Linked DNA regions of Homo sapiens: region 1 is linked to region 2. Evidence: promoter capture Hi-C in 16 types of primary human blood cells and fetal thymus (Javierre and others, 2016). All regions are on one chromosome and are shown on one strand. Each heading gives the region's core, a stretch centred on a gene start or on the middle of the fragment in contact. The rest is flanking DNA. Distances are from core to core; before and after follow the strand shown.

What was found. The method cuts DNA at HindIII sites, captures the fragments that hold promoters and counts their contacts. A CHiCAGO score of 5 or more calls a contact.
Region 1: a fragment that was not itself captured here is called in contact with the fragment with the promoter of DNAH9 in region 2 in 5 of 17 cell types (M2 macrophages, M0 macrophages, endothelial precursors and 2 more); the score reaches 10.1 in M2 macrophages.

What each region holds. Positions count from the first base shown.
Region 1 is chr17:10,879,788-10,885,899 of GRCh38, reverse strand. It overlaps LOC124903926 (a long non-coding RNA gene), which reads right to left. Exons shown (of 2, transcript XR_007065619.1): 2 at 5,005-5,428. Among named protein-coding and RNA genes, the nearest start is that of PIRT, 45 kb to the right of the region's middle. The HindIII fragment of the contact is 8,278 bases long and covers 1-5,609 here.
Region 2 is chr17:11,597,024-11,602,961 of GRCh38, reverse strand. DNAH9 (dynein axonemal heavy chain 9) reads right to left here and starts at 4,492. Exons shown (of 69, transcript NM_001372.4): 1 at 4,047-4,492. The coding sequence starts at 4,463. The HindIII fragment of the contact is 5,374 bases long and covers 3,329-5,938 here.

The sequences.
Region 1 (6,112 bases), core at 221-2,720, 710 kb after region 2:
TGTCCAAGTAACAAACCTGAACATGTACCCCCTGATTCTAAAATAAAAGTTGAAAAAGAAATACATAACCACCTACGGGTGTTCCTAAGCAGAAAATAGAATCTCGCATTTATTTTGGCACCTAAAAAAAAATTGGGCTGAGTGCCTGTAATCCCAGCACTTTGGGAGGCTGAGGCGGGCAGATCGCCTGAGGTCAGGAGTTCAAGACCAGCGTGGCCAACATGGTGAAACCCTATCTAAAAATACAAAAAATTAGCTGGGCGTGGTGGTGGGTGCCAGTAATCCCAGCTACTTAGGAGGCTGAGACAGAAGAATCACTTGAACCTGGGAGGCAGAGGTTGCAGTGAGCCGAGATCACACCATTGCACTCTGGCCTGGGCAACAAGAGTGAAATTCCGTCTCAAAAAAAAAAAAAAAAAAAAAAAAAAATTGGTAGTCCCAAGAGGCTTACTTGGAGGGATATGTAATGACTTAAAGTATGTACTCCATCTGCAGGGGGCGCCATGACTCAACTCTAGCCAATGGTTGCTATGTAGAATGTCAGAGTTCCTGTGCCTGGGTCTTTTTATATTCCTCTGCCCACAAAAAAAAAAAAAAAAAAAAAAAAAAGTCATTAATCTGTAATTTTGCATGAAATTTCCTGATTTGCAAAACACTATGTGATCCAAACAGCATATGCCTGTGGGTAATTTTCTATCCAGTCTGTGACTCCTGTATGACCATCTGCAACAGACCCTAGGATCCAGGTCTTGAATTAGCTCACCAGAGAGCTGAACAGCACAGCCCATAATCTAAGAGCAGACAGCCCTGAGCAGGTGAGGATGGGCAGCTGTGGGGCACAGCGGCAGGAAAGTTCTGTGTCTGATGAAGTCTCAAGCATTGAGCCAAGGAAGAAAGGAACTATCTGTCCTGTCAGAAAACTACAATGCTCAACAAGTCCTTGTGGTCTCAATTTTAACATTTTTGGTTATCACTGCAACAGTAGCATCTGCTCGGGCAATATGAGACAGGACTCTGGGAACATTATGTGACACCTTTTATCTCAGCTCTGGGTGAGGTGAACTGCAAGTACAACTATTTACAGGCAAGACAATCACAGGTACAGAGGTGTGTCAACATGCTCGGTGAAATTCAGAGGGAATCTGACCAAGAGCTTAGACAGATTTCCAAAAGGGTAGTGTGAGGTGTTAGAAGAAGCAGAGCCGATAGGAAAACTCATAACAGCATGTGCCTCCTCAGAAGCATCTTTTGTTTATTTGGCAAGGATGCAGCAAGAGCTTGGCTAGACCCCAGGGATATGCCAGTGAACCACACTGACCATGTTCATCAGTGGAAGTCAAAGTCAAGAGGAGGCCCCTGAGTTCTGCACTGTCCAGGCAAGATCACCCTTCACCCAGCCCTGCCATTCTGACAGCAGGACTCCCTAAACTCATCCCTCAGTACCCTGCCTTTCATCCCCTAAACCTCTGTGAACCCCATAATCTGACTACCCCCAACTTCCCAAACCCACCCACTGGGTCACTGGAATGCATGATCTATTATCAGCAAAATCTCTTTATCTTCGATTGCAACTGTAAACATTCCCCTTACCTTTCTGCCCTCACCGAATAAGGGGGCCATCAAGAGCAGAATGTGATGGAAAAATAATTATATTAATAGCAAACATTTATATGTGCAACCACTGTCCCAAGTCTAGTGCAAGCACAGCTCCTATATCTATTGCCTGAACTTCACAACAATTCCGTAAGCCCATTACCATTCTATCTTTTGATGAGGAAACAGAAGCACAAAGAGGTCGATTAATTAACCCAAGATCACAGAATTGAGAAGTAGTGCATTAGAAACACAGGACTTGAATCGAGACAGTTGGAGCCCAAACCCTGTGTATGTAACCACTGTGATATACAGTAGTACAGAATGGTCTGTGGTCAAAGACACAACTCCAGGAAGCAGCAACAGAGGCAACAACAGGGAGGAAGCATTAGGAGGGCTCCGCATCCACTGGGTTCCAGAACTAGCCCCTAAGAAAATCTCAAAGCTCCCCGCAAAGACACCATTTCCCCTGCTGTCCTCTGAAAAGGCAGCTGATTTTTTCATTCCCATACCCCTTGTTCCACTGGGCCTGGAGGTGAGGCAGGGCTCCTTTTTGCCCATTACTCCTTTTTGCCCGTTACTGATCTTCCATACCACTGCCCCCAACACTCCCGGTTTTAAGGGTCATGCGGCCATACCGAACAACCCACTACCCTCCTTGTCATAGTCAACTATTGAGCCCTGTGTCATTCCCCTCATTTCTACAAGATCCCGGCACCTGGGTCATGGTCACCCTCTCCCATACTACCTCAGCTGTGATTCTCAGTGATTTTGCTTTCCATAGAGAAATCCCTGCAAAGCCCTGGACTGCCCATTCCATGACCTCCTCTTTTCTGGGGATTGTTTTCCTCCATCCTAACTCATCCACTCTCCCTTATAGTCATGCCCTAGACCTTTTTACACAAGTAACTGCACTCTGTTATCTCAATTCTAAGAATCCTACTTTCCAACCACCACTTCTCATTTTCAGTTTGCCAATTCCAAAAATTATTGACCCCTCTATAAACTAAATACATGATTATATCTAAATATATGATCAATACATGGTTGTACTGTCCCTCAACTCCTCCATTGCCTCACTCTTCTTATCCAGCTTCCATTCAAGTAGGTGCTGTTACCATTACTCCCCAGAACATACTCCAGCTCCTTTTTTCCTCACTCCCTAATTCTCACCTAGGAAAAAAAACCCTCAACCCTTATTAAATCTCACTCTCTAACTATTCTGAACCTTTATCCAAGCAGCTGAACTTAGTGGGAGAAAAATACGCAAGCATATTGACTGGCCTATTTCAAATGCATGAGATCCTACCTCAAGGGGCCCAAATGCTACCTTCCAATCCTACTCCATTTCGCAAGTCATCCATTTATATGCTTTTCTGCCTAGTGTGATTGGAGAAAATCCAATTAAGAGACTAAACTATTATTTTGTAACTTCTTTCTCCTCCTCACTCTGGACTAAGAAAATAGAAGCAATCAGAAGAAAATGTTGCAGGCTTCCACCAAGACATCTACCACCCTCAGGGCATTTGTCCTAGAAGCTCTGCATTCCCACTCAACATCACAGATGAACTGAAAGCTCTAATGCCAGCCCTTCTGCTTGAACCCTAGGTCCTCATTCTCTTTTTCAATAACAAGGTCATTGATCGGTCAGCCACGCTGTCTCCTGCACCATCAAATTTTCTCTCTCTTCTTGACCTTTTCCATCCAATGCAAAACACAAACCCTTTGCTCACCCTTTACCTACTTCTAGTTCCCACTCATTTCTCTGCTCTCCTTTGCAGAATGGTCTCCAATTTCTGACCTCTTTTTCCATCTTGAACTCAATGCTTTTGGGCTTTTTTGCCCATCACCTCACCAAAACAGCCCTTATCTAGGTTTCCAATACCTCCATGTTACAAAGCCCAATCATCAATTCTCGGTCTTCATCTTACTCAGTCTCTCAGAAACATTTGACAATTTTTGTCCCTACCTTCTTCCTGAAAGTCTTTTATGATTTGCCTCCAGGATGCTCTTTTCTCTAGAGTCTCCTTCTACATCACTGGCCACTCCTTCTTGGTTGTTTCTCCTGGTCCCTGCTCAGATCTCAGACGTCTGAACATCAATGGCCCCAGACCCAGCCCTCGGCTTTCTTTTCCCGGTCTACCCTTCTCACTAGAGACCTCTCTAAGACCTCTTTCAGGCTCATGGTGTTAAATGCAATTTACACTGATGGCTCCCAGGTTTATCTCTCCTGCTAGACCTCTCTCCTGAATTCCACATGCCTCAACCCAACTTTACATCTCAGCTGGATTCTTAACACACATCTCAAACTTTAAACGAACAAAACCCAACTCCTGAGTCACATACCTCCCAGTCACATACCTCCCAATTCTCTCTCTCTCTCTCTCTTTGTCTCTCTCTCTCTCTCTCTCTCTGTCTTTCTCCCCTTGCTCAAAAACAGCTTCCCGTCGCACTCAGAGTAAAAGCTAGGGCCACCTGCTACCTCTCTGATTTCATCTTCCACCACTCTCACATGGGATTATTCTGCAACAGTTGCATTGGTCTTCTTGCTGTTCCTTGAATATACCAAACATGTTCCAGCCCTCAAAACCTTTGCACTTTCCATTTTCTCTTCTTTAAATGCCCCTCCTCCCAGAGAGCTTCATGATATGGTCCTTCACTGCTTTCAGTCTCCGTTTTCATGCAACCTGATTTGAGAGACTTTTTCTGACAACTGTGTTAGGTAGCAATTCCCTTTGTCCCCATCCTGGAACCAGAATGGGAGTTCTGGGTGAGCAGGTTGTATCTGAAGGGCTTAAAACAGTACCTAGGATGTGTATAGGTAATTTGTAGCTATTTGTGGTAAGCTCCTGTCCTTTTGGAGCTCACACTTTAGTAAGACAGACAAACATTGAATAATTAATGACACATATAATTAATCCTATTGCTGAAATATGTTGTGAAGAATAATTATAGGCCAGGCATGGTGGCTCATGCCTGAAATCCCAACATTTTGGGAGGCTAAGGTGGGTGGGTTACCTGAGGTCAGGAGTTCGAGACCAGCCTGGCCAACATGGTGAAATCCCGCTTCTACTAGAAACACAAAAATTAGCCGGGTTTGGTGGCATGTGCCTGTAATCCCAGGTACTCAGGAGCCTGAGGTGGGAAAATCGCTTGAACTTGGGTGGAGGAGGTTGCAGTGAGTGAAGATCACACCACTGCACTTCAGGATAGGCAGCAGAGTGAGACTCCCTCTCAAATAAAAAAAAAAAAATTACAGAGTAAATTTAGGGTATACGAGTAGCATATTCAAGGATGTTACATAAAAAGGAATATGGCTTCCAGACCCTAAGCTATGGGAACTCTCTAACTCCTTAAGGATCAGAGTTACGTGTCTCTTAGAAAAAAAAGGATGACATAGACATATCCAAATTGACTTGTCCTAGGAATTTCCAATTCTCTAGCATTTATTTATCCAAATATCTCTGCCTCCACTTTTAGCCACATGTAAAGCATCCTCAAGGTAGGTGGCAGAGCAGAGGAGATACCCTGTATGCCCAACCCTTTAGTGATAGAGAGTTTTCAGTTTGCTCAGAGGCCACTGTACCTCCATAGCTTCCAGTATCCTGTGCTTGGACTGTGCCTTCCGTGTATCAACTTAAAGATGCAAGTAGACACATGAGACAAGAGGTTCCATTGCATTTGGTGGCACCTTCTACACTATAGACATAGTGAGAGCTTGATCAGTGATGGATGGGTGGATGGATGGAGGCGTGGACAGGTAGGGATAAAGTGAGGAAGACGTCAGATCATCCAGGTTTTCCTCACGCTGGTTCCTCAGGTTCCTTGCCATTCCCTGTGGAACAAGAAGACAAATTCAAGAAGAATCTATGCCAGCCTGGTGGTTAGATCCTCAATTCCCATACCTTGGAGTTGTAATGCCACGGAAAAGAAATTTCCACCAACACCCTCACCAACCAGCATCCTTCAGCCTTTTTTGGGACCATGGTGGTTAGGACATCATCTTGAATCAAGCTTCCTATCCTGGAGCCCAAAGGTGGCTCCTTGTGCTGTTGGTCATTATCATCACCTGTCATCATAGGCTTTGTGAGTCAGTTCCTTGACCTCATCTTTTCCACTGATTTTTTTCCTCCATCCTAACTCAGCCACTCCCTCTATAGTCGTACCCCAGATTCATTTTATAGAAGAGGCAGGGGGAAAATGAAGGTCAGAAAAGGTAAAGTGAAATGCTCAAGGTCAACATCAAGAATTAATGAGAAAGGTGGGACTTGATTCAAAGTTGCCAATCCCTTAACAGCACTGCAACACCCTCTAGGAAATGTGCTCTGTATCCAGCCCCCACGCCTGGTACTTTGCATGCAAAGTTGCTGCTAGGGGATGAGCCAGGTTCCCAGTGAACAACCAACCCTTGGTCCTTCCGCCGGGGCTGAGCCCAAGTTAAGCAGACACTGAGCTGGGAAAGGGCGGGGAGAGGAGATTCTGCTCTGCTTCTAGATCATACTCCTTCCCAAAAAGATTG
Region 2 (5,938 bases), core at 3,243-5,742:
GGTCCAGGGCCAATGGGAAGGAGCCAAGGTCAAGAGATTGGAGCTCCCAGCAGGATCAAAGGACTGTTGTAGTCAGGGTATGAGAGAGAGTGAGCTGGAAAGATGGGAGTAGTGGTCAGAGAAGGAGGTGCATAAAATTGGACAATGAGGTTGGTGGTTGTTGGGAATGCAAGGTCTGGAAATGGCCATGGGAGGGGCTGCTTATGATCGGGAGGAGGACAAGATCACTGGAGGACAAAGATACAGAGAACCCAGAGGCCAAGTTATTGGAAGGGTCATTCACATGTCTTTGGAAATAACCACATATTAGAAGTAATGTTGGGGAGAGCCACAGTGAGTTGGGAGGCAAAATCATACACACGCAAGGGTAGCACCATCTGTACAGGATGCAGCAGTGAGAGTGGATGATGTCCTTTGATGACAGGAGATTCAAACTGGAGGCTTTTTGATGTGGATCTAGAGCAGCAAGGAGGAACAAGGAGGCCACCTGCCCCAGCTCCAGGCTTAGGAGAAGGCTGTAGGGGAAACGCAGCTGAGTCCTCCAGGAGGAGCCAGGATGGGTTACAGCAAGGTGACAAGGATCCATCAGATGGGTGAGGAGGATTTTAAATAGGATGAAGAGTGACAAGAATTCTCATCCTTTATGGAACACCTGCAGTGTGACACTCTATTCCAGGTGTTCTAATATATGATGTCTAAATTTCATAGCAACCCTGCAAGACAGTTTTGGACCTGGCAGAGTGAGCACATCTGCTCACATCACACTGCTGAATTTAACCAGAATTTGACTTAGGTCTGTGAGATTCCAAATCTTATGCTCACATTCCAAAATGCAAAAAGTCAAAAAAAAAATCCAAGTTTCAGAGCTAGGAAAAATAAGTTGGCAGTAGTGAATGATGTGGTTGGAGGAGGAAGTAAGGAAGTAGGAGAACAAGTTACTAAATTCTGTTAATTCTTCCTTTCAAACATTTCTTAGGCACATTTTCCTTTTTTACCTTGTACTCGTAGAATGGAACAAAAATAATATTAAAATTACAGCTTTCTCTCAGCCAACACCCTCAATCCTACCCCCAAACCGCCCCGCCCACACACACACAAGGCAGGAAGACGTCTCTCAGCCAGGTAGGTTCTTCTGGCTTTAGCGATGCTGCATGGGGAGGTGGAAGGAAAAGGGGAGCAGGTAATCAGAGACTATTAAGCTGATTACAAGGTGCTGAGAGAGAGGAGAGGGGGTGGACAGGAGGGCTGGGCCAGAAGGAGGGTCTTAGCAGATGGGAGGCCAACAAGCCTTGAAAGAGACACTGGATCAGCTTCAGGGTATGGAATAAAAGTAGATGGATGGACAGAAAGTGGAATAAAGTTACTGGTACAAGCTTTGAGAAATGCAAGGAAAGGACTTGAGTTATTTTTAAAATAAGTTATTTATTTAGGTTTTAAAATAGGTAATACATTTACATGGGGCAAAAATTTAAACGTACAAAAGCTTTTACAGTGGGAAGTAAATCTTCCACCTACCCCTGTACTTCAGTTACTGTTTCTCCTTCTTGTGGATTACTGTTAAAGAATGTCCTCTCTTCCTCCCTCCCTCTCTCCCTCCCACCCTCCCTTCCCTCCTTCCTTTCTCTCTTCTTCCCCTCCTTTCTTTTTTAAACATAAATAGTAGCATACCATCCATGCAATTCTGCACTTCTTTAAAAAATTATCTTAAATTGCAGCATTATTCACAAAAACCAAGAGACAGAAACATCCTAAGTGTCTATGATGGATAAATTTTTTAGAAATGTGGTATATACATACAATAGAATATTGTTAAAAAAAGAAAGAAATCCCGCATATGACGATAGGCGGTGACGATATGGATGAACCTTGAGGACATTATGCTAAGTGACATAAGTCAGTCAGAAGGAACAAATACTGCATGATTCCACTTATATGATGAGTCAGGTTCATAGGAACAGAAAGTAGAATGGTGCTAGCCAGGAGCTCAGGGGAGCGATGTGTGGCTTGCTGGGTGTGTGTGGAGTTTCAGTGATGCTGGACGGGGCAGTTCTGAGGATGTGTTGCACAATAATGCATATGTGGTTGACAATATTGTACTCTACACTTGGAAATTGTTGGGTGAATTTTACGTCATGTGTTTTTTTTGCCACAAGGAAAAAATTACCCTAAGGAATAACTCCGGTTGGACATGGTGGCTCACACCTGTAATCCCAGCACTTTGGGAGGCCAAGGCAGGAGGATCACTTGAGTCTAGGAGTTTGAAACCAGCCTGGTCAACATAGCAAGACCCTGCCTCAAAAAAAGGAATATTCCATATCAGTCATTCTTTTTAATAGTTGCAAAGTATTTCACTGTATAGATGGCCCATAATTCAGTCACCCAGTCCCCTGTTGATGAACATTGTTTGTCTCCAATCTCTTTCAATGCACCAATGAAAATTCTTAAACATTCGAGAATTTTCATTATTTTAAAATTATTTTTCTTGCTGGACTACTTTGCTTGGCCATGACACAACTCTGAGATGGGCCTTCTGTCTCCCACATACACTAGGTTAAATCCTGTCTCTGAACCTTTGATCAGTCTGCTCTCAGTATCTTGAAAGTTACCTTGCTCTCTACTTATACAAATTCTTCTAATTGTTCAGGAGACAATTCAACACTTATGTTAAGCATGCTTCTCAGATCACAGGCCTGTCTTTCTCCTCTGAAGCCAAAAGTACTTTCTATCGTCAACATTCATTAGAGAAGCTGATCTAAGTTCAGGCTTCAGCGGGATGGCTTTCAGACAATGCACAGTTGCAAGACCATTCTGTTTGTTAAAATATTGAAATACCTCCATATCTAAGAGATCTAGCTTCCTGGGCCCTCTGTGTCCTCCTCTATCTATCCAACCCTTTCCCTGGAATTTTCACCTCCCCACAGCCTCCTGATACACCATCTAAAGGGCTTACACTTGACATAGCAGGGAGACTCCAGGACTTGCATCCAGCAGTGGGGCCAACTTTTAGGTAAGCTTTACCCTCACCCCAGTCTTAAAAGTTTGAAACATTTTGAATATATGAATTATTACATACGTTTCAGCTCCTTGGAGTAAGCATTTCATGGGTGGGAATAGTTCTTTGGTATTCCCTATAGCACCTATCACCTGAACCATCATACAGCCAGTATTCTGCCCATCCTTATTTCACAACCTGCAGGGTCCAGGGCATCAAGCCTCCATAAGCACACAGCCTGACTTGCAGGGCAGTTTACTCCCATTCCAGAAAGGTCTAAGGGGCCCAGGAATCTCTCTGGAGCACTTCCCTGAAATCTCCTGCATTCTCGAAGCTTCTGCTGTGGTGCCACTAAAGCACTCATGACCCACATCTCCACCTTCCTCCCTGAGCTTCAGGCAGACTCCTCCAAAGGCCTGCTGGGCATTTCCAAATGGGAGCCCAACTTCTTATGCTGGCACAGGGCTGACCTTTGCTAAATGGTTGGTAATGAATGAATGAGATGAAAATCAAAAGCAAATCACTACCCACCTCCCCCTCCCATTTAACTGCTCTCCAGAAGTAGGCACTGTTTATAGCCATCCACCTCCTTCCACCCCACTGATCCATCAGAAATGCCGTCTTGTCCACTTCCCATCTTCTTCAGATCTTTCCAATTTACAGGAGGGATTACGAGAGGCTGATTTTGAAAGTAGTCAGAACCTAGGCACTCTTCAGATTATGGTCTTCCCCTGACTTTGGCTGGAACCCAGACCCGGACTGACCCAAGCCTCAGCTCCTTCCCATTCTCATTCTGGCCTGGCCTCCACCCAGATCCCTCCCTCCGGACCCACCCGACTCCGCCCCTAACCCCATCCCATTTTCTTCCTGACTTCAGGAACTTCCCTCCTGGTTGTGCTCCCTCCACAGCCTCGCCCCTCTGCCTATCACTCCGCCTCTTGGACCTCCCCTGCAGCTTCGCCCCGCCCCCTCTGGCCCCGCCTCCGTCCCTTAAGGCTCCTCCTCCCCTCCCCCACCCAGCTTTAGCCGCGCGGGGACACTAACCCACCCTCACCTCCGAGAACAGCGCGGCTAGGTGCTCCAGAGGTGCCGCGGGCAGGTCCCCGCAGACCACTGCGCCGCGGAAGCTGTCGGGCCCTGGAGGCTCGGGCCCGGTGCGAAGGAAAAAAAGCGCCTTAGCGCCAGCCAGGCCCGACTCAGGTCCCACCTCCAGCCCGGGGCGTATTGCCAGGCCCCTGGGCCCGGGCCGCACCACCAGCAGCGGCCGCGGCCCCTCGGCAGCATCGCGGCCCAGGAAGGCCTGGAGCAGCTGCTCCGCCTCAGCACTCCCCGCGCAACGCTCCCAGGCGCCCGCAGCCGGCCGCAGGCTCATGGCCACGTAGGTCCCCAGGAGTCGCAGTCGTCGGTCGGCGCCGGGTTCCCCATCCGCGTTCTCCGCCGCGAGCGCGGCCCGCTCCTCCGCGAGCCGCATCGCGCGCGGCCTCCAGCTGCATCGGTTTCCCTAGCGACGGGGACGCGGCCAGGACTCACTCCTCTGCTCCCTTCCTATTGGGCACGGACCCCTGGTCCCGCCCCTTCCAGGCTAATAAGGTAGGAGGTGTACGCGGGAAGGGGCGGGGTCGCGTCGCTGTTGCTAGGACACCAGCCGAGACTCGTACTCAGTGTCTGCCTGGTGTATTGGGAGTGCTGAAGTGTGACCGTGGAGCGCAATGGCTTATTGATGGGCTGCGTGGAGAGGAGATCAAGCATATAAATGCTGTTAAGGATCGTTTTGGCCAAGGTCGAATTAGAGTCTTTAGAGGTCTCCAGACACTGAAAATAGTGTGGTCCTCTTACCTCTATCCTAAATGTGCAATCCAGACTTAAACACAATGCCAAATCATAAAACAGATTTAAGGACATTCAGTGAATTTTATTTCTTTTCCATGATGGCAAATTAAACACTTCAGAACAGTGCTGTCCAGTAGAACTTTCTGCGATGATGGAAATGTTTTCCATCTGTTCTAGCCACGCATGGCCTATAAAGGAGGTGAAATATGCTCGTCCCACTGAGGAAATTTTTAATTTTACTTAATTTTCACTTAAAATTAAATAGTCACATGTGACTGTAGTTATATCGAACAGCTCAGCTTCAAAATTTTAATATCAAGTTTTTTTAAGTTTTCTTCCGTGCCTTTCTTTGCCCATGTTTTTTAAGGCATGTGCTTAATCTTCTAAAAATGTAACCAAACTGTAAGAGGCTTGTTTTTGAGACAGAGTCTTACTCTGTTGCCCAGACTGGAGTGCAGTGGCCGGATCATAGTTCACCGCAGCCTCAAATCCCTGGGCTCAACTGATCCTCTGGTCTCAGATTCCCTAGGAGCTGGGAATACAGGCGCCACCACATCCAGCTAATTTTAAAAATTTTTTGTAGAGATGAGGTCTCGCTGTGTTGTCCAAACTGGTCTTGAAGTCCTGGACTCAACTGATCCTTCTGCCTCAGCCTCCCAAAGTGCTGGGATTATAAGGATGAGCCACCATGCTAGAGTTTTTGACTTCCATGGGTATGACCACTAATCAGTTCTTACTAAATGTAGCAAAGTACTTGTAAATATGCAGGATGCTCAGAACCTTCCCATCCTGCCCTATACCTGGATATTGGCTTCAAAAAGGGATAATATAAAGTGCCTTGCCTGACCTCAGAAATTAGCATTTGTTACCTGCTTAGTCCTTCTCCATGGTCAGGATAAACAGCTTGGCCCTTTGCATGCATGTAAGGTGACAGTGCATGGGTGCTGAAAAAATGGACAAACAACTTGGGCAGCATGAGGTCTGCAGGACTGAATGAGCTCCCCTCTGCCCTGCCATCCTCCCTTTAGTCACCTCCCAGGGACTGCTGAGTTTCTGGGTAAAAGGAATGTTTATAATGGGTTTCAAAGGAATATTAACAGAATAAGCACTTATCAA